4 separate regions of the Homo sapiens genome follow, and all the other regions are linked to region 1. Evidence: promoter capture Hi-C in human tissues and cell types (Jung and others, 2019). All regions are on one chromosome and are shown on one strand. Each heading gives the region's core, a stretch centred on a gene start or on the middle of the fragment in contact. The rest is flanking DNA. Distances are from core to core; before and after follow the strand shown.

Region 1 (5,878 bases), core at 857-3,356:
TCCTCAGAAAATCCTTCCCTGACCATTCTGTTTTGTTTTCTGCTCAGTACTTATCACTGCCAGTGATTATCTCATCTATTCGTTTTATTATTTATATTCTTCATTAGAAACATAAGCTTTTGTTGTTTGAGACAGAGTCCCACTGTGTTGACCAGGCTGCAGTGCAGTGGCATGATTTTTTGGCTCACTGCATCCTCCGTCCCTCACCCCCCATCCCCCACCACAAGCAATCCTCTTATCTCAGCCTCCCGAGTAGCTGGGACCATAGGGGCCTGCCACAATTCCCAGCAAATTTTGTTGTCATTGTTGTTGTTGTTGTTGTTGTTTTTAAATTCTGTAGAGAGGGAGTCTCACTATGTTGCTCAGGCTGGTCTTGGACTCCTGGCCTCAAAGTGATCCTCCTGCCTCAGCCTCCCAAAGTGCTGGGATTATAGGCTTGAGCCACCTGTTTGTTTCCTTTCATACCTAGTCCTGCAGAACATAAGCCTCTAAGTGCAGGGGCTTCTTCTGTTTATTCACCACTGTATTTCTAGCACCAAGAATACTATCAATATTTTTTGAATGAATGAATCAAACAGTGAAAAGGCCAGTCATCTTGGTGTATATAGAAGGTAGCCAACAGAGACCCAATAGAAATGAGTGCCTATGTTCCTACTGCTCTATAACTAGTGGGAGTGGGGAGGGGAAGCAGCTGGGGGTCTACCAGACCCTGTCACCAACTAGTCAGCACACGTGGCAATCACAGTTGTAGAAGAGGCCAAACGGAGCAGATCTGCCAATGACAGCCAGTACTAAACTCGACTGGATGCTGAGGGCCATTTCTGCTTTGAGTGAACAGTGCAGCCTGCTGGGTGGCCAAGGGAACGTGTACAAATCCACTTTGTTTAAAGGACCCAGAGAGTAGTCAGTTCTGCTAAACCTCATCTGTTTGTTCAGGGATTTTTGTCCTGGGGAGGAGTGGGGAAGAAGCGATTAGTCAGGCCAGGCTAGCTGGTATTAGTTTGCAGGCTGTGAGTGCGACTCTTCAGTCTCTGCTCCTCTCATCATTGCCTTTTCACCTACCTTTACCCTAAATTTACGTACACCTCTGCCTTCACAAATTCCAAGCGATTAACTGTTGTATTTAATCTCTGTCCCAAATCTCTCTGCATCATTCTTCTTTTGATTATGAAGTCACGAGGGCCCTTTGTTTATTTTATTTTTAAAACTTTTTTTGAGAAGGAGTTTAGCTCTTATTGCCCAGGCTGGAGTGCAATGGCACAATCTAGGCTCACTGCAACCTCTGGCTTCCGGGTTCAAGCAATCCTCCTGCCTCAGCCTCCCGAATAGCTGGGATTACAGGCGCGCGCCACCAAGCCCGGCTAATTTTTTGTATTTAGTAGAGACGGGGTTTCACCATGTTGGTCAGGCTGGTCTCGATCCTAACCTCAGGTGACCCAGCCACCTCGGTCTCCCAAAGTGTTGGGATTACAGGCGTGAGCCACCGCACCTGGCCTCAAGGGCCCTTAAATATTACTTAGTTGTTCCATTATTTGGTGTGTTTTATTATTTGGTGCAGGTTTTTTCCCCTTATCTAGTTTGAATGTTGCTGAAGGACGCTGGTTTTCAAACGGTAAGGAATCTCCTGATAAAGGCACGAATCTTGGTGTGCAGATAAGCCAGCGATTCTTGCTTCTGGCTAGTTCTACGTTGTTCCTGGATGGTCAGTTCAAACTGCAATGATCCACAGCTCCAGAAGCGGCTTCTTCCAGTCGGCCTAGGAGCCAAACGCCCCTGCAGCTCCATGCTACCACGCAGGGTGCCGTTTCGGGCTTGCAGGGAGTTGTCGCAGTCCCGTTTTGGCTGCACATTCTACTGCTGGGGTGGAAGTGTCAAGCAAGATGTTGTCGCCGGTATCATGATGTCCGGGTGAGAAGCTTCCTTGGCAGGTTGCCAGGGCCAGCCTGCGAGCACTGGCGCCGGGGACCCGCGCGCCCGGGAAGGGGCGGGGAGGTGGGCGGAGCCTGGCAACCTGGGGACCACCAATAGGATGCTCAGCCGGAGGTGGCCCTGCGCGTGACGCAGCGGTGCTCGGAGGCAGGGGGCGTAGGGGCCGGGCTGTCCGGCGCTTTAGCTTAGCAGGCGACGTTGCGGGCCCTGGGCGCCAGGAGAGCTTCCCGGAGTCGACCTTCCTGCTGGCTGCTCTGTGACCGCTTCCCGGCTCTGCCCTCTTGGCCGAAGTGCCCGCTGCCGGGCGCGGGCCTCAGGTAACGGTGGTGCTCCCGCGCCTCTCCTCGCTTCCCGCTTGGGTCCACCGGCCTCAGCCCGCGGGGAAGGGAGAAGCGGTGGCGGCAGCAGCTCCGGCCCGGCCTTGTCCTGGGCTGTGCTGCGGAGAAGGCGAGGCTCGGCGACTGCAGGGGAGTTGGGGAGGGGAGGGCGGGAAAGTTACCGTCAGGCGCCCGGGTCACGGGCAGCCTTTTAAACCCTGCACGCTGGTTTGGTGTTCCGCAAATCTCGTGGCATCTCTCAAGTCAGTAGTAAAGAAAGTTAGGAATTAGAAGACGTTTTATTCTTTAAAAAGCGAAACCAAAAATGCACTCAGGAAGTCAGCTTTTTAATGATTTAGAGAAAATGTGTGAAGGGAAGGATGGTATTAGCAAGACATGAAAATCTGTAGGGGCACCAGAACCTTTAATCAAGCTCATGTTTTATTGTAAAATATTAGGATGTAGGTAAGTTTCTGTTTTCCCTAAGTGTTAATGGTCATGTAATTTAAATAATATGTATATTGAAAGGTTATTTCTAAGTGAGAAACAACTATATAAACTTTATTCTCCGTATATATATTTAGGTTAAGTTCGTTGGTCACTTTTGTTTGTTTGAGACGGAGTCTCGCTGTGTCGCAAGGCTGGAGTGCAGTGGCGCAATCTCGGCTCACTGCAACCTCTGCCTCCCGGGTTCAAGCGATTCTTGTGCCTCAGCCTCCTGAGTAGCTGGGATTACAGGCGTGCGCCACCACGCCCAGGTAATTTTTGTAGTTTTAGTAGAGACGGGGTTTCACCATGTTGGACCAGGTTGGTCTCAAACTCCTGACCTCAAGTGATCCGCCCGCTTCGGCCTCCCAAAGTGCTGGGATTACAGGCGTGAGCCACCGCGCCTGGCCTGTTGGTCACTTTTTAATATTTAAGTGGCTGCCACCTGTTTAAACCACTTTTTTCTTTTTTTCAGCCTGCTTGATTTCCTCTTCCTTGAAGTAGAATTCAATTTGAAGCTTTTTTTTTTTCTTTTTAAAAGTTGGGCGGTGTCAGTGAATGACTTGTTAAGGAAGTCTGTGCGTTGTCTGGGTGTGAGAATGGGTTTTGGAAGGAGCTCTGTGGCACTGAATTATCGTTTAGAAATGCACGTGTTTTAGTGAATCACATGCTTAGAATGCATCTGAGGTTTCGCAGTCTTTTAGGATAAAGACCTACTGAGTGAGCACACTCTATCTCTGGTTCATTTGGCCCACTTTCCTTCTGGCTTTCCAGGTTCATGCCACACTGGCTTTATTTTTGTTACTGGAAAGCTTCATTTTCTTTCCTCTCTTGGCTTTTAGGAGTTTCCTCCACCTCTAATGCTGTATTCTCTCCCTCCCTCCAACTCTTATACCTGCCTCAGATATCAGCCCACATATCACTTCCTCTGGAAATCACCCCATCCCCATTAAGCCCTCCATGAACTCTTTATTCTCCTTAGCAGAAGTTGATCATTAATTGTAATGAATTAGTTGCTTTGTTTCCTCTGCTAGTGCATTTCATGAAGGCTGGTTTAGCCTGTTGTAATTTTCAGGGTCTGGTCCAGCACTTGGCCCAGAGAAAGAATGAATAAGTTGGTGGACAGAGGAAGGAACTTTTGAATGAGAAATACAGTGATCCCCACTTAACTGCTTTCTGTAGTTTCAGCTACCTGAGGTGCGAAACAGAGTACAATAAGACATTTCGAGAGATACCATGTTCAAGTGAATTTTAATACAGTATATTGTTAATCTCTTACTGTGCCTAACTTTTTGAAACTTTGCCTCCCAGGTTCAAGGGATATTCATGCCCCAGCCTCCCAAGTAGCTGGGATTACAGGCGTGTCCCAGTACGCCCGGCTAATTTTTTTTTTTTTTTTTGAGATGGAGTTTGGCGCTTGTTGCCCAGGCTGGAATGGCACGATCTCGGCTCCCCGCAACCTCCGCCTCCCGGGTTCAAGCGATTCTCCGCCTCAGCCTCCCAAGTAGCTGGGATTACGGGCATGTGCTACCACGCCCGGCTAATTTTTTTTTTTTTTTTTTTTTTTTTTTTTTTTTTTAGTAAAGACTGATCAGATCTTACTGGTCAGGCTGGTCTCGAACTTCCAACCTCAGGTGATCCACCCGCCTCAGCCTCCCAAAGTGCTGGGATTACAGGCGTGAGCCACCGCGCCCAGCTCACCCGGCTAATTTTTGTATTTTTAGTAGAGACAGGGAGGGTTTCACTGTGTTGGCCAGACTGGTCTCAAACTCCTGATCTCAGATGATCGGTCTGCCTCGGCCTCCCAAAGAGGTGGGATTACAGGCGTGAGCCACTGTGCCCAGCCTGTAAATGAAACTTTATAATAGGTATGTATAGGAAAAAACAACGTGTATTGGGTTCACTGTTATTCACAGTTCTAGGCATCCACTGGGAGTCTTGGACCGTATCCCCCATGGATATGGGAGAACTACTGTATTAACCAGGGAAGAGTCCCTTTTTCCTATGGGAAAAAGTTTTTAACAAAGACCAGCCAAGTTCTATTTTTCTAAGAGGATGGCTTTGTTTTGCATTTTTTTTGCCACATTGGTTAATAAGAGATTATACTAACCATACAGATGTAAATGAGAATTTGTTCTTGTTCTTTAGTTTTGCTAATTACTTAAAGACCTAGTTCTGTGATATGTAAAAGTTGTAGCGTTGTGTTAGGGCCAACCTTTGGGTGCCAGAGGGAAATTTTTTTTGCTCTGGATTGTAAATTCTATCCACAGTTGTGTCCCCTTTCCACCACTGAATCTAAGGGTGATGTGGCAAAGTTCTTTACCTGGAGTAGGCACTCAGTATTTGTGATACAGATTTATGGGCTCTTTTGAAAGCTGTATTAATGGGAACACGGAGGCAGGCTAAAGTTGACATGTCTTTCCAAGTTCATTTGTTTCTCAAATCATTTCTTTTTGTTTTGCTTTCTTAAGATAAGTTAGATGCTTATCACACTGAACATTATGTAATTGCGTGCACAGATTAGATTCTTAAGAAATTCTTTTTCAATCAGTGTGTTGTATAAATAGCTGTCTACTTAGCTTTGTTACCTGGGGGGGAATAGCTTTATGTTACCTGTGACTTTGAACAAGTTTGTTAGCATTTCTGAATCTCCTGCATCTTTAAAAATGGACATGTTAAATGAGATATGTGCTACACCTACTGCACTCAGCACTTTGTTACCTGCTTCCTAAACGCTAGAGATTCCTTCACTGCTAGACCTCTTGAGAGACTAGTCTTATGATCACTGTTTTCACTTCCTCAACTTACTGGCGGTGTACTCCAATATATTTATTTGTCCTTCCTCCTAAAACTGTGCATGTAATCAAATCATAGCTATTAATGTCCCCCAATTGTGAAATATCCCATGTCCTGTCCTTTTCTTTTCTTTTTTGAGACGGAGTCCAGCTCTGTCACCCAGGCTGGAGTGCAGTGGCGCGATCTCGGCTCACTGCAACCTCCGCCTCCTGGGTTCAAGCAATTCTCTGCTTCGGCCTCCCGAGTAGCTGGGATTACAGGCACCTGCCATCACCCCTGGCTAATTTTTTGTATTTTTAGTAGAGACGGGGTTTCATCATCTTGGCCAGGCCAGTCTAGAATTCCTGACC
Region 2 (5,878 bases), core at 1,333-3,832, 240 kb before region 1:
AAGTAATTGATTTTCACAGGCAAAAACAGCAGTTATGTTGGAAAAAGAACAAGAAGGCAGGGGCCTAGAAGCGCGTAGAAGTGAATGAGTAATCTCAGGAAGTACTAAAAGGGACCTTGGAGATCAGCTAGTCCAACTGTCCATTTTACAGGTGAGAAAAATGAGATCCAGAATTCTGATTTTCCATATTTCACATAACCAAAACATGAGCTGAGGATTCAGGCCTGACTTCAGTGTAGTTCTTTTGATTCTTATTCCTTTTCTCTTCCCTCCATCTTTTCCTCTCCTGCCCACTCCCAAAGTTCCTGTATTCCTCTAAGCTTTTGCATTTTACTCTGCGCAGCCTTTAGATGGATTGGAAAGCTCTCTAATGTTTCACTGAAAGGACCATACTGCACTTCACCACATACCTTCCTGTGGCTGCCCTGAAGTACTAAAAATAAAGTATTCAAGGATAGCCTACATCTGTAGTAGAACAGTACCTGAATAGTGTCAGCTTTTTGCTGCAGGGGTATTTCAAATTTGACTTTTAATTTAGAGGTAGCTAATATAAACCTTTTAAAAAATTATTCCTAAGTAATCCTTTGCACTAGGAACAAACAAACAAAAAATTACATTTGGGTATATTGACCATGCTAAGAAGAAACTGGTGCCCAACCAGAAGGTGATACATGGCTGTCTTCTAACAAATGCTTCATCATTTTGCCTTGAAGATATATTTTGTGGATATGATTTCACTTTATATTCTAAGGTCATTTAAGTTGAAGTTCACTGCCTTTTATAGTACTGTTTTCCACTTCCCTATTGCTGTTTTAGCATGAGAGAGCCAACTATCCTTAGTGGAACCTCTCTTCTCCACATCACTCTCAATTTATTTCTATTTCATAGGTCCATTGTAAAGCCTAAAAGGTCTCCTTTAGATTCAGGAAATGCAGGAGACCAATAGAGAGGACATAGGTGAATTAAGTACTTTTTTCTTCCTAATTAACAGATTTAAATTCTATCTTTTAAAATGGTTAGTAGAAAGAAATATGCCAGTCTTCATTATCCTTTGCTTATGTCATACATGTGATAGAAAATCATCAGAATGCAGTCTGAGATGAAAGAGACCTTAGAAATTACCTCCTAGTCCAGCCCCTAATATTGTAAGTAAGGAATCTGAGACCCAGAGAAGAGAAAGGTTTTGCTCAAGCTTACCCAGTCAAGTAATGACAGCCACACCAACCTCCCACTGCCAGTCCAGGACTCCTTGTAGTACGTCATCATAAACTTAAAAAAAAAGAACAAGAATGGTTATTCAAACAACTTTTTTCAAAAGCGCTGTTGCCTTCCCATTAACAAAGATTGAGTTATATCAGACTATTTTCCCCCAAATTTAAATTTCTCTTATAAGCTTTGCCACAGCCATTCTGGTAAGCAAAAGTTTTTTGTTTTTTGAGACAGAGCCTCACTCTGTTGCCCAGGCTGGAGTGCAGTGGCACAGTCTCGGCTCACTGCAACCTCCGCCTCCCAGGTTCAAGCGATTCTCCTGACTCAGCCTCCTGAGCAGCTGGGATTACAGGCATTCACCACCACACCCAGGTAATTTTGGTGTTTTTTAGTAGAGATGGGGTTTCGCCATGTTGGCCAGGCTGTTCTCGAACTACCGACCTCAGGTGATCCACCCATCTTGGCCTGCCAAAGTGCTGGGATTACAGGTGTGAGCCACCGTGCCTGGCCAGCAAAAGTTTTAATTACACATTTTTCTTCATTTCTTCAGGTCAGTCTAATAAACATTTTAGTAGACATTTATTAAGCACCAACTATGTGCTTAACACTGTGCTGGCAATACAAAGACAGTCCTTGCCTTCCAGAAAACTACCTTTTATCTGTACTAAAACTACATCAAAAGCCCTTTAGTGGGGCAAAAATGACAGCTTCCATGTTTTATTCTTAGAATGATTGGTGACGTAGATAGAGAATTCTAGTTTCCTTCTCTACCTCATCTTCATTCCATCTACCGGCAATTCATGCTAATCCACAGTTGTTTGCAGGGTTGACAGAGAAGGTGACTATAGCAGAATCAGGCTTGCTAATGGGTGTATTCTACCACTTGTGCTGTCACCTGTTACTGGTGTAATCCACGTATACATCTGTGCTTCCCATTCACTTTGCAGGTATAGCCGAGACCATGTGGTGGAAGGGGAACCGTATGCTGGTTATGATAGACACAATGCAGAGGTAGCAGCCTTTCACTTGGACAGGTGCGTATGATCACAGCAGCTTATGTTCATTTTGTTTGCTTTCAAAAATCTTTCTTGGAGAGGACTCGTGGACTCCTTCAGAAGGATGCAACACTAATAAATAACTTGTTATCGATTTTAGATAGCTAATTGACTAGTTCCATTAAACTTGTATGAGTCTCATAATTTGGTTGGCACCAGGAATACTGAAGTATTTTACTTCCATGCTTCTTTAGGTCATTTCATTTCTGGCCTGCTCTGTTATTATCATCAGTGAAGATATTCTTGGTAAATAAACTTTGAACTTAAATCTCTGAATTGAACTGGTCGTTAATTGGGTCTAGCCATCCTGTTGTTTTGTTATGTATTTGTTTTAAGTAAGTAATGCTGACTTATTTCCATGTGCTGGAAACATATAGCATGAAATATGAGTTTTATTATTCTTTATACAAACTATGCACAGCTTCAAAAACCAGAATAATTACAAAAGGAAAGGGCCAGGCGTAGTGGCTCATGCCTGTAATCCCAACACTTTGGGAGGCCAAGGTGGGCAGATTGCATGAGCTCAGGAGTTCGAGACCAGCCTGGGCAACATGGTGAAACCCCGTCTCTACTAAAATACAAAAAATTAGCTGGGCGTGGTGACAGGCACCTGTAGTCCCAGCTTCTTGGGAGGCTGAGGCAGGAGAATCGCTTGAACCCAGGAGGCACAGCTTGCAGTGAGCCGAGATCGTGCCACTGCACTCCAGCCTGGGCGACAGAGCGAGACTCTGTCTTTAAAAAAAAAAAAAAAGGAAAGAAAATAGATGTGAATTATAAGTTTGTAAGTTAACTAGGAAAATTCTTTTTTTTTCTTTTTCAGCAGGTTACTAGTCAGGAACCTTGCAGCTGAACTGTCTGGTATCCCAGTTACTCTGCTGACCAGCTCTTTCATAAGGCCATATTGGCTGACTTTAAAAGAAACTGCTAACAATATTTGTTTTAAAAAATTAATTTATGACTGGATGCAGTGGCTCATACCTGTAATCCCAACACTTTAGGAGGCTGAGGTGGGCAGATCACTTGAGCCCAGGAGTTCAAGACCAGCCTGGACAACATGGAGAAGCCCCGTCTCTACTAAAAAAATACAAAAATTAGCTGAGTGTGGTGGCGTGTGCCTATAGTTCCAACTAGTGGGGAGGCTGAGGAGGGAGGATTGCTTGAGCCTGGGAGGTCGAGGCTGCAGTGAGCTGTGATCACACCACTGCACTCCAGCCTGAGCAACAGAGTGGGACCCTGTCTCAATAAAATAAAATAAAATAATAAATAAATTTTTTTTCTGAGACAGAGTCTCACTCTGTCCTCCAGACTGGAGTGCAGTAGCCTGATCTTGGCTTACTGCAACCTCGACGTCCTGGGTTCAAACAGTTATCCTGCCTCAGCCTACCGAGTAGCTGGGACTACAGGTACGCACCACCACACCCAGCTAATTTTTTGTATTTTTAGTAAACACGGGGTTTCACCATGTTGGCCAGGCTGGTCTGGAACTCCTGACTCGAGGTGATCCGCCCACCTCAGCCTCCCAAAGTGCTGGGATTACAGACGTGAGTCACCACGCCCAGCCTAAAAATGAATTTATAAGGAAACCAGAAAAAAAAAGGTGAAATGTTTGTCTTTTTCTGAATTAGGATTTTGTAAACATAAAAGCAATAACTTAAAAATCACAAATTCAATAGTCTTGACTAAATAAAATAATGAACTTATATAGCAAGAGACAAAATTTAAAAGCAAACAACAAACGGAGAAAACACTTGAATCTAATGTAATCTGAGTATTAATAGCCTTAATATGTGTTTATACAAATATTAATGGTCTTAATATGTGTTTATACAAACATATGTATGTTAAAACTCTATTAGAAAATGGGTTAAGAGTATAAACATTGTCAATTGCTAATAAATATGTGGGGTGGGGGGAGGTTCATCCTCACCAGAAATTTTTAAAAATTCAGATGAGATACTGTTTTTACCTGTTGAAAATGGCAAAGCTTAAAAAAAAGATAATACTTTATTGGGAGGAATACATTGAGATTCATATGCTGCTTATGGCATTGTTAATTGTTTCAGTCTTTTTGTTAAGAACCCTAGCATTATATATCAAAATTAAGGATAAATATATCAACATTAAGGAATGTTCATATCCTTTGAACAAATAACTGCTTTTTTATACACATATCTAAGACATTTCTAGGAACTACCCTAGAGAAAGAATACAAAATTCAAAGATATATATACAACAGTCTTAGCTGTAGCATTTTCAATAGTGGGAAAACTGGTTGTAACCTAAACATCTATTGATATGGAAAAGCTTAGATATGTGTGTACAATACCATGAATTTTTGCTGCCCCTTTTAAGACCTAGTGGTGGACAGTTGGATAAATCCTTCTCCTCACTTAATGGCACACTAGAATCAGGCTTTCCAAGACCTTATCTGTTTGCCTCTTTTCTTCGTCCCCAACTCCCTTCTTCCTATCCTGTTTGTTGGAAACCAACAGGCATAAAGTTCCTCATTTCTGTACCAGTGTTTTGTATTGCCCAACACACTAAGTTTTGTTGATATATATGTAAAGTGATATTTCATTGTTATTTCATTGTTATTTTGTATTTCCCCATTACTGGCAAAGTTTATCTTTTCACAGCAGGACACCTATTTGTTATCTTAGAGTATTTGTGTACTTTTGATGTTAACTAACTATAATGTTTCAGTTTGTGACTTGGGCTTTGGGAGTCTTGTATTTAAAAGTCCTTCCCTACCTCAAAGTCTGAAAGATGTTCTCTTGCCAGTCGCCCTGTCACTTTTGTTAAGTGCCACCGTAGCCAGCCTCAAGTGCCACAGTAACATTGCCCCTCAATGCTAAACTGGCTGCTGTTCTTGGGCTTGGCAATTTTCAATGGGAAGAAAAAATACTTCCCAATCTAGGCTGCGTTTGTAGTCCTAGGTACCAGGGAGGCTGAGGTGAGAGGATCACTTGAGCCCAGGAGTTCCAGGCTGCAGGGAGCTATGATCATGCCGCTGCACTCTGGCCTGATCAACAGAGTGAGACTCAAAAACCAACCACCCAAACAAACAAACAAACAAACAAACAAAACACACACAAAAAACCCTTCCCAACCTTTTCCATTTGTGGATCTTGATACTTTTCTGCTTTGGGTTGCTGTTTCTTCATTACAGTCAGATTTAACCACCTTCCCTTGCCTCTGGGGGTATCTCTGGATTTCTATGTTATTTTGACAAATCTGTTGATCTTGCCTTTGTGGCTTTTCTAAGACTGTGTTTAGGACAGAATCAGCAGCCCTAAACAATAGCCATTTGTAAAGGCTTTCTAATGACTGGGGAAAAGGTTCATGATACAATGATGAGTACAAAGCAAGATATAAAACTGCATACAATATAATCTCGATTGTATGTATATACGTAAGTGTGAGTGTGTGTTTATATACCCACACTTAAAGGGAAAGCATGCTTATATGCCAGAATGTCAGCACCTGTAATTATTTCTGGGTTGTGGAATCATAGGTGATTTTTATTTTCTTCATTGTAAATTTTCTGTGTGTTCCAAATTCTGCCCCTCCAACTTTTGTTCAGTTGGTGTATATTTTTTAGCCAGGAAATTTCA
Region 3 (5,878 bases), core at 2,059-4,558, 190 kb before region 1:
TATCTTTTAAACAGACAATACTACAACCTTATAGTTATATTACAGTTGATATTTTCTCAAAGTGCTGTCATATACATTATCTCATAGTCATTAAAATAATGTGAACAATAAAGTTTTTTTAAAGAAAAGGGAATGTAGGACTAACTAGGTTTTTTAAAAACTCAAGTTGGTATTTCTTTACTACAAAGTGCACATTGCTGTGTTGCTGAGGTCTGTCCAAAAGAATGACCCCATTGAATTTTTTAAATGACTGAATTCTACTGAGTGCTTGCTTGGCTTGTGTTCCCATTACTCCACATTCAAGCCCCTTAAGGTCAAAGTGTCAGGAGCATGTGCTTTAGAAAGTGTGCAGCACCACACAGGCTGATTGTCGGTCTGAGCCACTTTTTTGCAGTGTCTCACATGGCAGCAGGTATGGTGGAAAGACCCCACAACCATAAAGTCAAGAGACTTGAATTCTAGCCTTGGCTCCGCCACTAATTAACCGTTCTGAGACAATAGGCAAGTAATTTAACCATCTTCTGCTAGTTTCTTAATCTATAAACCAAAGGGTTGGGGTACTGATAGTTTTCAGATAGCACTGGGTGTTTCAAACACCTGGCGAGATTACTGGAGAATACACTGGCCGAGACCCCAGCCCACTGGGAATTCTGATCTGGAGTGGGGCTATTCCGTCAGTTTTTTTTGTTTGTTTTGTTTTGTTTTTTAACCCTAGGGGATTCTGCTGTGCATCCCTAGACTAGGTGTTAATAATAGTAGTAGTAGAACATTTATAGAGTGTGCTCATTGTGTGCCAGGCACTTGAGCTAAGTATCTTACAAATATCATCTCATTTAATCCTTACAACAACCCTGAGGTAGTTACTATTATTATCCCTGTTTTACAGTGAGGAAACTGAGGCTCCCAAGGTTAAATGACTTGCCTTTTAGACTGGCATTAGAGCCTAAACACTAAACCACTATCTATACTGCATCCTTTAAACTCAAAATCTCCATGACTTTAGTTAAATAAAAATGGGCAGTGCCTTAGCAAAGTCAGCATGCTTTATTACCTGGGACATATTTTACTAGCCAATTTTCAGTTGAATCCTAAGAAACTTTCTATCTAATTTAAATCTTAAAATGCTGCTGGTAAAGGGTCTCCACTATAATGACCTCTATGTACAGAGGTCATCTAGAAAAACACTGAATGAATTTCTTAGGGCCAAATTTTTTAAGGCTAATCTCTGAAAATCATGATGGAAGTCTACAGGAAAATATATACATTTAAATTTTACACAAAGCCTTTTAAGAAAATACTTTAGGTAAAGCACAATCAAGATGTATTCAACACAAATCACTGCATTTTAAAGTGGGAAATCTAAACTGAAGTAATATTATCTGTACATGAAAGGAATCAAGCAGTGGCAGCCCAAAGGCATGCATCCAGATATACAGCATAACCACTTTAGAAAACTGTCAACGCCTTGGACAAGGGCCTTTGCTCATTGCTTTTAGAATAGTTAAAATTAAACTACACTTTTCCAGAAGCAGTTCTCTCTGCTTTGGATTCAAACCTTTTAATTTACATAAGGGTTTGTGTTTAAGCTGGTCCTTTTCAAGTAGAAAAAGGAAAAACCTAAATTATGCTTGTATAGTAAGTTGACAGTGCCTCTTTAACCTGAACCTTGAGCCCTCAACCCCTGAAGTTACATAGTTCAAGCATCATGTGGACGGGGTATGCTCCAATAGTCAATGCCACTCTTGACAGTGTTGACAAAAATCAATTCCATTTATATATCGTGCACCCACTGTAGGCAAGACAGCTAGGTGCTGCCCCTGAGTAAGACACAGCCCCCACCCCCTACCCTTCAGATTGTTGTTGGGCAAGAAAACCAGGGAGCCTAAATACACTCAGTAGTGTTTCTCCAAGGCTTAGTTCCAGAACTCTCAAGGGAAAATAGAGCCCTTGCTTAAAAAACAAAAAACAAAAAAACCCTGAAAAACAATTACAATCCCTTAACTTGCATCCCACAACAACAGGGATAAACCTAAAAAGCAGCATAATAATATTCTACAGTTTTAGCTTTCCCATCCTCGACCTTAAAAGGCTAGCTGCTAAAACGAGTTCTTCAAGTTTACGGACATGTATGATGAGCAAGAATGGCAGGAAAGAAGGTGGGAGAAGGACCGCTGGTTTTTACATCTGAGTTCTCTTCCAACCACTAGGAGGAGATGAACCCAATCACTAGCTGCCTGTGCTGCAACTGCAGGTGACATACTGCGGGGATCACCCAACACCTGCCAGGAATGCCCAGCACCGCGTGTCTCCTCTAATCCTCTTAACCTGGGCCTCCTTTGGAGCAGCAATGGTAAGAATCAAGGTTTCCTTTCTTTCCAATGAAAACTCAATTTTGTTCTTGGTCAAAAATGCCAAACTCTATTCAAAACATAGTTTTCCCCTTAGTATTCTAGCCCAATTCATATAATCTCAACAATTCTTAATTTCATTAATATTTTCTACTCAGCAAATAAGATAATGGAAAACAATTCAGCATAACAACACTGCACTAAAAGAGCTTTCCAGAGAGGCTCTCCAAGGGATAGCTGCACACTTACTTGCAACACCCTTGAGAACATGTACTGTTACCTTAATTAAATAGATTAAGAGATGAGGCTGTGGTTTGACAGTGTATCAATGACAGAGCCAGAAGAAAACTCAGTGCTCAATGTTGAATTCCTATCTTCCTAAGCTAATATTCCTTTGAGAGAATAAAATAAAAATATGTGTGTATTGAGCTCTCCTTGGGGAGGATGGGGGAAGTATTCATAAAGCTTTAAAAAGAGAATGAAGCAGTAACTGGAATTAGACCCGATACCAAGAACATTAATAATACCTAACTCATTAGATTCACTTCCATGCCATCCTAATTAGCTTCCACAATTATAACTAAGGAAGGAAGGAAAAGGCCTATTTTTCAAGGGCAAAACATATTTAAGGATTAAGTCATTAGGTTCCCAGGGTCTACCTGGTGCTCCCTGAAAATGACTACTCCTTCAATTATGCATTCTTAAAATAGAAGTGAAATGACAAAATAAATAAAGAATATTCCCAATAAGATCTGTACAAATAAGCACAATGATTGGGTGGGGGAGTAGGGAGGAATATGTGAGAGAAGAAAAGCATGTGAGAATAATGTGGGGGTGATTCACTTCAAATCCATAGAGAGGAGAATGCCTCTCCCTATTCTCTACCTGGATTGGGCTTAAGGTGGTAAGGGAAGGGAAAGGTACAGAGAAACAGCCATTAGGACCAAGCCAGCTTTTCCTCTCAGTCACATACAGGCCACTGGGTTTCAAGAAAAGACCATCTCCCTGGTATTTTAGTTGATAAAGAAAAATACACAGCTGCTCAAGTCCTTGGCCAGTATGTCAGTATGCAGGGGAACTGTATCAGAACAGGATTCATTCCTTTGTGAGAACCTGTAGGGACTACTATTTTCAAAATCAACACTGGTTAATGCTCTGAATGCTACCAGGAATAAAGGAAGACAGCCTGCCCAGCAAAAGACAGAGAAGAACCACTAGGGAGACCCCTGTACTTATGGTTTACAGATAGCCACCAACAGGCAGGAAGCCGATCCTGGTCCATTATGAAATAATATACCAGACTGGGAGAAGTGACTTCTGCTAATCTGTGTAAGATTTTAGAAGGTTTTCAATTTCTGATTCAACTTTCCAGCATTCTTTACTTCCTGCACTAACTGATACACCAGCGGAAAATAGGACAGAGGCATTCAGATAGGGCCATATTTCCCAGTTTTATGTTGTAGCACTCTGATTTGCAGTTCTTATTACAGCAGCAATGGCCTTGTGGAAGCAAGGCTAACAGCTACTTCCAACAGCCCTGAACAAAAATTTCTCTTGGTACATTCCCAGCTTTCTTTTCTGCTGTCCCACCAAATTCATTAGGTAAATTGGAGCATAATCACCATTAGTACCTACCAGAGCCCCAGGTCTGGGTGCAGCTGCTGCAGTCTTGCTGAGAGCAGCCCTGCCTAGCACTTCCCAGCATTCCAGGTAGGGATGGGCTGCATTGCCTTCCTTATGACATACACATGTTCCCTATTTTCCAGTGCAGTTTCCAACCCTGTCCACTACTGCCTTGCCCCCACTTAATTTACCTCTCCTATACTTATGTGGTTTGCTTCTTATTTTTGAGATGAAACTGTAAACGTGAGAACTCAGGGATCTGAGGTACTTCACATAAACACACTCAAGTATGAGTCTTTCATTTTCTGAAAACAAGAACACAGGAAAACAAGTCCTTTTCCCTCTCCCCTCAGAAATGTGTGCATTTTCCCACCAGGCTAACAGTGGCTACCTCTGCACCACATCACTGATTTCCTGTACACATGACAATAAGTTATTAAGGACAGGGTTTGTCCCGGGCACACCAGCAGCTGCTGAAGAAACCTGTAGCTCCTGCAGGCTGAGTTCCAGTTTGCTCACAGCCTCTCGGAAGGCAAATTTGTTGCGAGTTTGAGGGATGCAGTCCACATAGCCTGAGCAGTAGTCAAGCAGCTGGTGTCCAGTGTCTACCAGCTGGCTGTTGGGCACAGGTTCCGTGAGTGCACTGGACAGTAGGTCAGCACATTCCAGCAGGGCCTCTTTGCTGATTTTGTCTGCTGAGATTTTCTCAGCGGCCTGTTTGGTTTTTCTCAGAGCCACTTTAGTACCTGCTGTGCCATTGGCCATTTTGGCTGGCGAGATGGAAGATGTGGGCAGAGGCACTTGAGGTGGAGGCATCACTGGCCTCCCAGCTTTCCCACTGATGGGCACTGCGCCCAGAGCTGCCTTCTTTCCTCCTTCCTGTGTTTCTGATGTGGACTGTCCTGCAGTTAGGGCAGTTGGCTCTTCTGTAGGGTCTGAGCAGATGGACGGATGCTGCAGTAGTCTCATCACTGGTGGTGGGGGTGGGGCACACTTTGGTTTTACCCGTCGGGGTCGGTCCTTGTCTCCAGAGGATGTGACCTGATGCTCAGATAAGAGCTTGAATTTATTCCCCTGAGAGTCTGTGCCAATGAGCTGCACGTCAGCTGGAGTGTGTTTCAGAGTGGGTGAGATAAGGACTGGCACTTTGTGGTTGTGAGTGGTTGGGAGGACGGGGGCAGCCTTGGCTGGAGAAGGCCAGCCCGGCTGCTCTCCATCCTCTGGAACTCCAGCCATCCCAAGTCGTGCCCCACCATTCTTCTCTTTACCCTTGGGGGCAGCTGCCACTCCAGCCACTCCCACCCCTGGAGGGTCCTTCTCTGTAATGGCTAGATCCCCAGAGGGTGTTCTGAGAGGAAGAGCTGTGGCTCCTCTGGGCAATAACTTGGCTTTTGGTCTCTCCCTGCTTGGAGCAGCACTTTCCTCTGATTTTTTTGGAAGCATGTCATTGGCCCTGTCCACATTCTCTTCTGGCTGAGAAGAGGTGGACACTGTCCTTTCCAGCTGGAGTTTGGACCTCTGGCAGTTCCTGGGAAGGGTCATTGCCATCCTATCCTGCTCTGGAAGCCCTGAGGACATGGAAGATGTAGAGTTTGACCTTGGAAAAGGCTTGGAAGTGTCATCACTGGCTGTGGGTTTACCTGCTCGTAAGCCCAGTGTCTTTTTGATTAAGCGTGGTGTAAAGAAGCCTGTGATGCCAGACCACCCACCCCCAGCAGTGCCACTGCCCCCACCCCCACCACCGTCGTCATTACAGAGGTTCCTCTGTGCAAAGCTCCCCCCATAGCACTTGGGTGGCACCAGATTCGCCTCTTGCTGGGCAGGAGTGAAAGAGAACCCATCAGCATGCTGTAGAGAAGCAACAGATGAGAAGTTACCCGTGAGTTCGTATTTCTTATGGGGCTGAT
Region 4 (5,878 bases), core at 2,145-4,644, 150 kb before region 1:
GATTTAAGATGGGATAAGAGAAGACTGATTTTCACTCACATGTAAAGAACCTAGATAACAGAAATATATTATCACAATTTAAAAAAGGCATTTTTTTTCTATTGCTACAGTTGCAGGCTACAACAAAAATAAAGCAAAACAGAATAGCCACTTGTACAAAGTAAATTATCATGATTGAAAAAGTTAAAACCCAAAATAATAAAACTGAAATTGAGAAAATTCCTAAGCTTCATGTTTAATTTTATTAAAAATACTTTTCACCAGTTAGTCATTCAGTAACTTTTATCAGTTTAATTAGAAATTTGTCAGGTAGTAATAGGAGAAATTAATATTACAAATTTTTAGTTTAGGCATTTTCAAGTATTTTATAAACATTATCTTGCCAGAATTCTACTTTATCTGACTGTATATTCTCTAAGAAGCTAATAAGTTTTAATAACTTCTTTTAAAAATTATGTAAGGTAAATTATTCAACAGTTTTCAATATAGCTTAAGTTCTTCACATCAAGCCATCTATATCTTATTATTACAAAATACTACATATTATCCATACATTCTTCCATTCAGTATTTATTGAGATCCTACTATGAGATATTCCCCCAAGAAAGCACACAAACTTTCACTGACCAAGAATGAAGACAAAAACAGTAGCAGATAAGATGAATTTTTTGAAATCTTCATTCACACTTGATTAATGTGGTTATCAAGCCTCCCTGAAACTATCAACTCTGAACCATACCTGTTAAGTCGGGTAGAGCAGATTCTGAGGCCTCAGTGCACAGGCAGCAAAGTGAAGTGTCCTGATCTCTGCCATAACTATTAGGTGGAAGGAGAACTGTCCCAAGGACCATACCTCTGCCCAGAAGCACAAAAGTTAAACTGTTCTGTGTAAAGAGGAAGTCTTAGAATTCCATTCTCTGACAAGCAATACCACATGCATGTGACATTTACTCATGTACTCAGTGGCCAGAGGGAACCAATAAAATGGTGAGCATTCACAATTCCCAAAGTGGGTGGAGAGTGACCTAAAGGAAAATTTCCAGCAATCCGCAAAAGACTGAGTCAGAATGGAGTTACTTCAAAATCTCTGAGAACACTTTTAAAATGTAAGTAAAATAAAAACCAACATATATATGTATAACAAATAGCCTAATAATAAAACAATGTAGAAGTTAATATATCTCTATTTTATAGGGAGATGATGAGGTGAGACTAGAGAGAAAAGTTTCCTTGGAGAAAATCTGTTTACAATAAAACACGAAATACACTTTTAAAAGAAAGGAAACGCCTAACAAGACTCATCTTTTACATCACTTAAATAGTTCAAGAAACCACAAAGCCAAAGTCAAAGAAATAGCTGTGATCTGATTCATGAGCACAGAAGCCAAGAAATAACTGCCTTTGCTAACAATCTGGCTCTATAGCTTAATAAAGGTTAAAAACATGGCAATATAGTGTTGAAAACTTTTGAGTGTTAAAAGTTTATTTACTTATTTATTTTTATTTACTTATTTATTTTTTGAGACGGAGTCTCGCTCTGTCGCCCAGGCTGGAAGGCAGTGGCGCGATCTCGGCTCACTGCAACCTCTACCTCACGGGTTCAAGTGATTATCCTGCCTCAGCCTCCCAGGTGACTGCGATTACAGGCGCCCGCCACCACGCCCAGCTAATTTTTTGTATTTTTAGAAGAGACGGGGTTTCACTATGTTGGCCAGGCTGGTCTCAAACTCCTGACCTCGTGATCCACCTGCCTCAGCCTCCCAAAGTGCTAGGATTACAGGCATGAGCCACCATGCCCAGCCTGAGTGTTAAAAGTTTTTAAAGCAAAAAGCCCAATCTTTGTTAATAAACAGGAACAAAGTTAAAGAAAATTTAAAAACCTGAAAATGATAGTACTTTATGAGAATTAAACTAGTAAAACCTACAAATAATACATGACTTTAATGTATGATCTACAAAAATAATATTAAAGAGCGTTTGTAGGCCAGGGGCGGTGGCTCACGCCTGTAATCCCAGCACTTTGGGAGGCAGAGGTGGGTGTATCACAAGGTCAGGAGATCGAGACCATCCTCCTGGCTAACACAGTGAAACCCCACCTCTACAAAAAATACAAAAAATTAGCCCGGCATGGTGGCGGGCGCCTGTAGTCCCAGCTACTCGGGAGGCTGAGGCAGGAGAAAGGCATGAACCCAGGAGGTGCAGCTTGCAGTGAGCCAAGATCGCGCCACTGCACTCCAGCCTGGGCGACAGAGCGAGACTCCATCTCAAAAAAAACAAAAAAAAGAGTGTTTGTTTAACTGTGTATCTGAGAACACTCATTCACTCAATAAATATTTATTAAGCACCTACTATGTACCAGCCCCTGTTCTAGGTCAATATAAGTAACAGGGTAAGATAATAGGATGACAGGACTGAAACAGCCTTAGAGAAAATTGAAAAATAAAATGGTAACTTAACCTTATTAGAGAAAGAATAACTTTAATGTAGGTAATTATTAACTATTTAAAATAACAAAGCTTATGTTTTCAATAAAATTATCCTTTATAAAGCCAGTACTTTCAACATCAAGGGACAAATAAAAGAGTTAGATGACTAAAGGTTACCACAATTATGACTAAGAATTTCAAATACCAGATTGAATATCTCATTCTCCGGATTATAGAAAAAAAGGTATGGGAAAGGATCTTCATCATCCACATTCTATCCATATGTAGACTCTATACCATATGGTTTACTATTTAATCAATAAATCTTCTATTTAAATTACCAATAATTAGTAGTTACATTTTCAATTACTTATAGCATAATTTGGAATAAAGAGGAGATAAATGGATAAACAAAAGGTGGTCTATACATATAATGAAGTATTATTTAGCCATAAAAAGAATGAAATGTTGATATATGCTACAATGTAGATGGGCCTTGAAAATATGATGCTAAGTGAAATAAGCCAGACACATCAAGGCAAATATTATATAATTCTACTTACATGAAATATTTAGAATTTTTCTAGTTCTGGAAGTCTAGTTCTGCAAATGGATGGCTATACAACATTATGAATATATTTAATCCTACTAAACTGTACATCTACGAATAGTTAAAATAGTAAATTCTGATACTTTGTCATAATTAAAAATTAAAATTACTAAGGTCTCCAAAGGCCTTTTGTTTATGTTATAGCTATCAGTATTTACTATATTTGAAATTAAACCTGAAATTTTAATGAGAAATTTGAATACCTATTAATTCTAAAATAACAATAAACCCATTATGTTAATAACATATTTTTACCAAAAAGAAAACTATTTTCAAAAAAGAATTAAGAAGATAAGAGTAGCATTTTCAGTTTTTGCAAATCTCTTTAATAGGCTGAGGTGGAAAAGTGCATTACTTTAATGAACGTGACAAACTAAGGCCAGAAGCAAAAGAAGAATCTAAGCAAAGATGAGGAGGAGCGGGGGCATTCTGAGTAGACAATGTAGCAAGTTCAATGCAAAAACTCTGAGGTAGGAAAAGAACCTGGTATGTACAGGAAATAAGAAGTGTGGCTACTGTTACGGAAGTCAAAAGATGAGCATGAAACAAAGTAAGGTAGACAGGGGCTGGCCAAATCAAGTGCTTAGGGATTTAGGATTCTATTCCAAGTGCAATGGAAATCCAGTGAACAGTTTTAAGCAGGATGGCCATATGGTCTGATCTCCATTTTTTTTTTTTTTTTGAGACAGGGTCTTGCTCTGTCTCCCAGGCTGGGGTGCAGTGGCGTGATCTTGGCTCACTACAACCTCCACCTCCCAGGTTCAAGCGATTCTCCTGCCTCAGCCTCCTGGGTAGCTGGGATTACAAGGTGTGCACCACCATGCCTGGCTAATTTTTGTATTTTTAGTAGAGATGGGGTTTTGCCATGTTGGCCAGGCTGCTGATTTCCATTTTTTAAAAGACCATTATTACATGAAAAAAAATGAATTACATTGAGAACCAAATTAGAAGCAGAAAACTATGCAGTAGTTCAGCAATGGGATCATGTTGGCTTAGAATAGGATGGTGGCAGTGGAGACAAAGAAAAGTGGAAGAACTTAACGATATGGTTTGAAGAGGGAATCAACAGGGCTTGCAGATTACTTGGATACAACATAAGAGAGAAGGAGAAAATAAAGAACGGCTGCCAGGTTTTAGGCTTAACTGTAACTGGGTAGATGGCCATGTAATTCACTGAGAAGCAGCAGTAGCACAGGTTGAGTATACCTTATCCAAAACACTTGAGACCTGAAGTGTTTCAGGTTTAAAATTTTTTCAGATTTTAGAATATGTGCATATATATAATGAGATATCTTGAGGTTGAGTCCCAAGTGATATGGTTTGGCTGTGTCCCTACCCAAAATCTCATCTTGAATTGTAATCCCCATAAATCCCTACGTGTCAAGGGCAGGATCAGGCGGAGATAATCGGATCATGGAGGCATTTTCCCCCATGCTGTTCTCGTGATGGTGAGTCTCACAAGATCTGATGATTTTATAAGCGTCTGGCATTTCCTCTCCTTGTACTCACTCCATCCTGCCACCCTGTGAGGAAGGTGCCTGTTTCTCCTTTGCCTTCTGCCATGAGGAAAAAGGAAAGGAAAAAGATATATCACCCCAAAATATGTCTCTGACATAAAAATTATTTTTGAGCCTAAAGCAATGAATAGGGGAAAAGCTCTCCATATCCTCTTGCTTTTCTACCTAAAGACAGGATACAAATTCTCCTTTACTGGTGACAACTATAGACTCTTATCAGCCCAGAGATGGCCTGAGCCTGGGAGGTTGAGGCTGTAGTGAGCCAAGATCACAGCACTGCACTCCAGCCCACATGACAGAGCCAGACCCTGTCTTTAAAAAAAAAAAATTTAAAAAGTAGGCTAAGAACATGAACAGACATTTTCCAAAGATGACACATAGGTGGCTAACAAACATATGAATAAATGGTCCAATCACTAATCATCAGAGAAATGCAAAAAAAAAAAAAAAAAAAAAAAAAAACCAACTGATGTTGGCAAGGATGCAGAGAAAAGGGAACACTTATTCACTGTTGGTGGAAATGTAAGTTAGCACAACCTCTACGAAAAACAGTATAGAAATTTCTCAAAGAACTACAAGTAGAACTATACTTCAATCCAGCAATCCCACTACTGGGTATCTACCCAAAGGAAAAGAAATCATTCTATCAAAAAGACACTTGCACTCCATATATTTATTGTAGCACTATTCACAATAGCAAAATCATGGAATCAACCTAAGTGTCCATCAATGGATGACTGGAGTTTTTAAAATGTGGTATAGATATACCATGGAATACTACTTAGCCATAAAGAAGAATAAAATCATGTATTTTGCAGCAACATGGTTGGAACTGGAGGTCGTTATCCTAAGTGAAATGACTTAAAAACAGAAAGCCAAAAACCCTATGTTCTCATTGTAAGCGGGAGCTAAACAATGGTACACATGGACATACCGAATGGAATAATATATTCTGGAGACTCCAAAAGGTGGAATACTACCTATTGGGTCCCATGTCATGTATGCTATTCAGGTGATGGTTACACTGGAAGCCCAGACTTCACCACTAGGCAATATATCCATGGAAGAACTGCACTTGTACCCTCCAAATCTATAAACTTTTTTTAAAAAAGCAATAGAGAGACCTCAGCTTTTGCAAGATTAACTCTCTTTAGGTTAGTCAATAATAGTATAAGTACATGTTGTTTTATTATTCTTTGCTTTACTGTGCTTTGCAGACGCTGTGTTTTTCACAAATTGAAGGTTTGTGGCAACCCTACATTGAGCAAGTCTATCAGCACCACTTTTCTTTTCTTTTTTTTTTTTTTTTTGAGACAAAGTCTCAC

What was found. Contacts are between HindIII fragments. The study calls those that stand out against the background at their distance.
Region 2: a contact is called between a fragment that was not itself captured here and the fragment with the promoter of SOAT1 in region 1, in 1 of the 25 tissues and cell types used here (bladder).
Region 3: a contact is called between a fragment that was not itself captured here and the fragment with the promoter of SOAT1 in region 1, in 1 of the 25 tissues and cell types used here (mesendoderm cells).
Region 4: a contact is called between a fragment that was not itself captured here and the fragment with the promoter of SOAT1 in region 1, in 6 of the 25 tissues and cell types used here (IMR-90 fibroblasts, aorta, heart left ventricle and 3 more).

The regions. Positions count from the first base shown.
Region 1 is chr1:179,291,691-179,297,568 of GRCh38, forward strand. It overlaps SOAT1 (sterol O-acyltransferase 1), which reads left to right and starts at 2,107. Exons shown (of 16, transcript NM_003101.6): 1 at 2,107-2,246. RefSeq lists a silencer at 1,902-2,091 and an enhancer at 2,304-2,811. The HindIII fragment of the contact is 6,238 bases long and covers 1,017-5,878 here.
Region 2 is chr1:179,048,123-179,054,000 of GRCh38, forward strand. It overlaps FAM20B (FAM20B glycosaminoglycan xylosylkinase), which reads left to right. Exons shown (of 8, transcript NM_014864.4): 3 at 2,157-2,243. Among named protein-coding and RNA genes, the nearest start is that of FAM20B, 25 kb to the left of the region's middle. The HindIII fragment of the contact is 3,652 bases long and covers 757-4,408 here.
Region 3 is chr1:179,103,360-179,109,237 of GRCh38, forward strand. It overlaps ABL2 (ABL proto-oncogene 2, non-receptor tyrosine kinase), which reads right to left. Exons shown (of 12, transcript NM_007314.4): 12 at 1-5,878. The coding sequence ends at 4,359. Among named protein-coding and RNA genes, the nearest start is that of TOR3A, 24 kb to the left of the region's middle. The HindIII fragment of the contact is 5,184 bases long and covers 717-5,878 here.
Region 4 is chr1:179,142,194-179,148,071 of GRCh38, forward strand. All of the region lies in intron 1 of ABL2 (ABL proto-oncogene 2, non-receptor tyrosine kinase), which reads right to left. Among named protein-coding and RNA genes, the nearest start is that of TOR3A, 63 kb to the left of the region's middle. RefSeq lists an enhancer at 450-1,649. The HindIII fragment of the contact is 9,613 bases long and covers 1-5,878 here.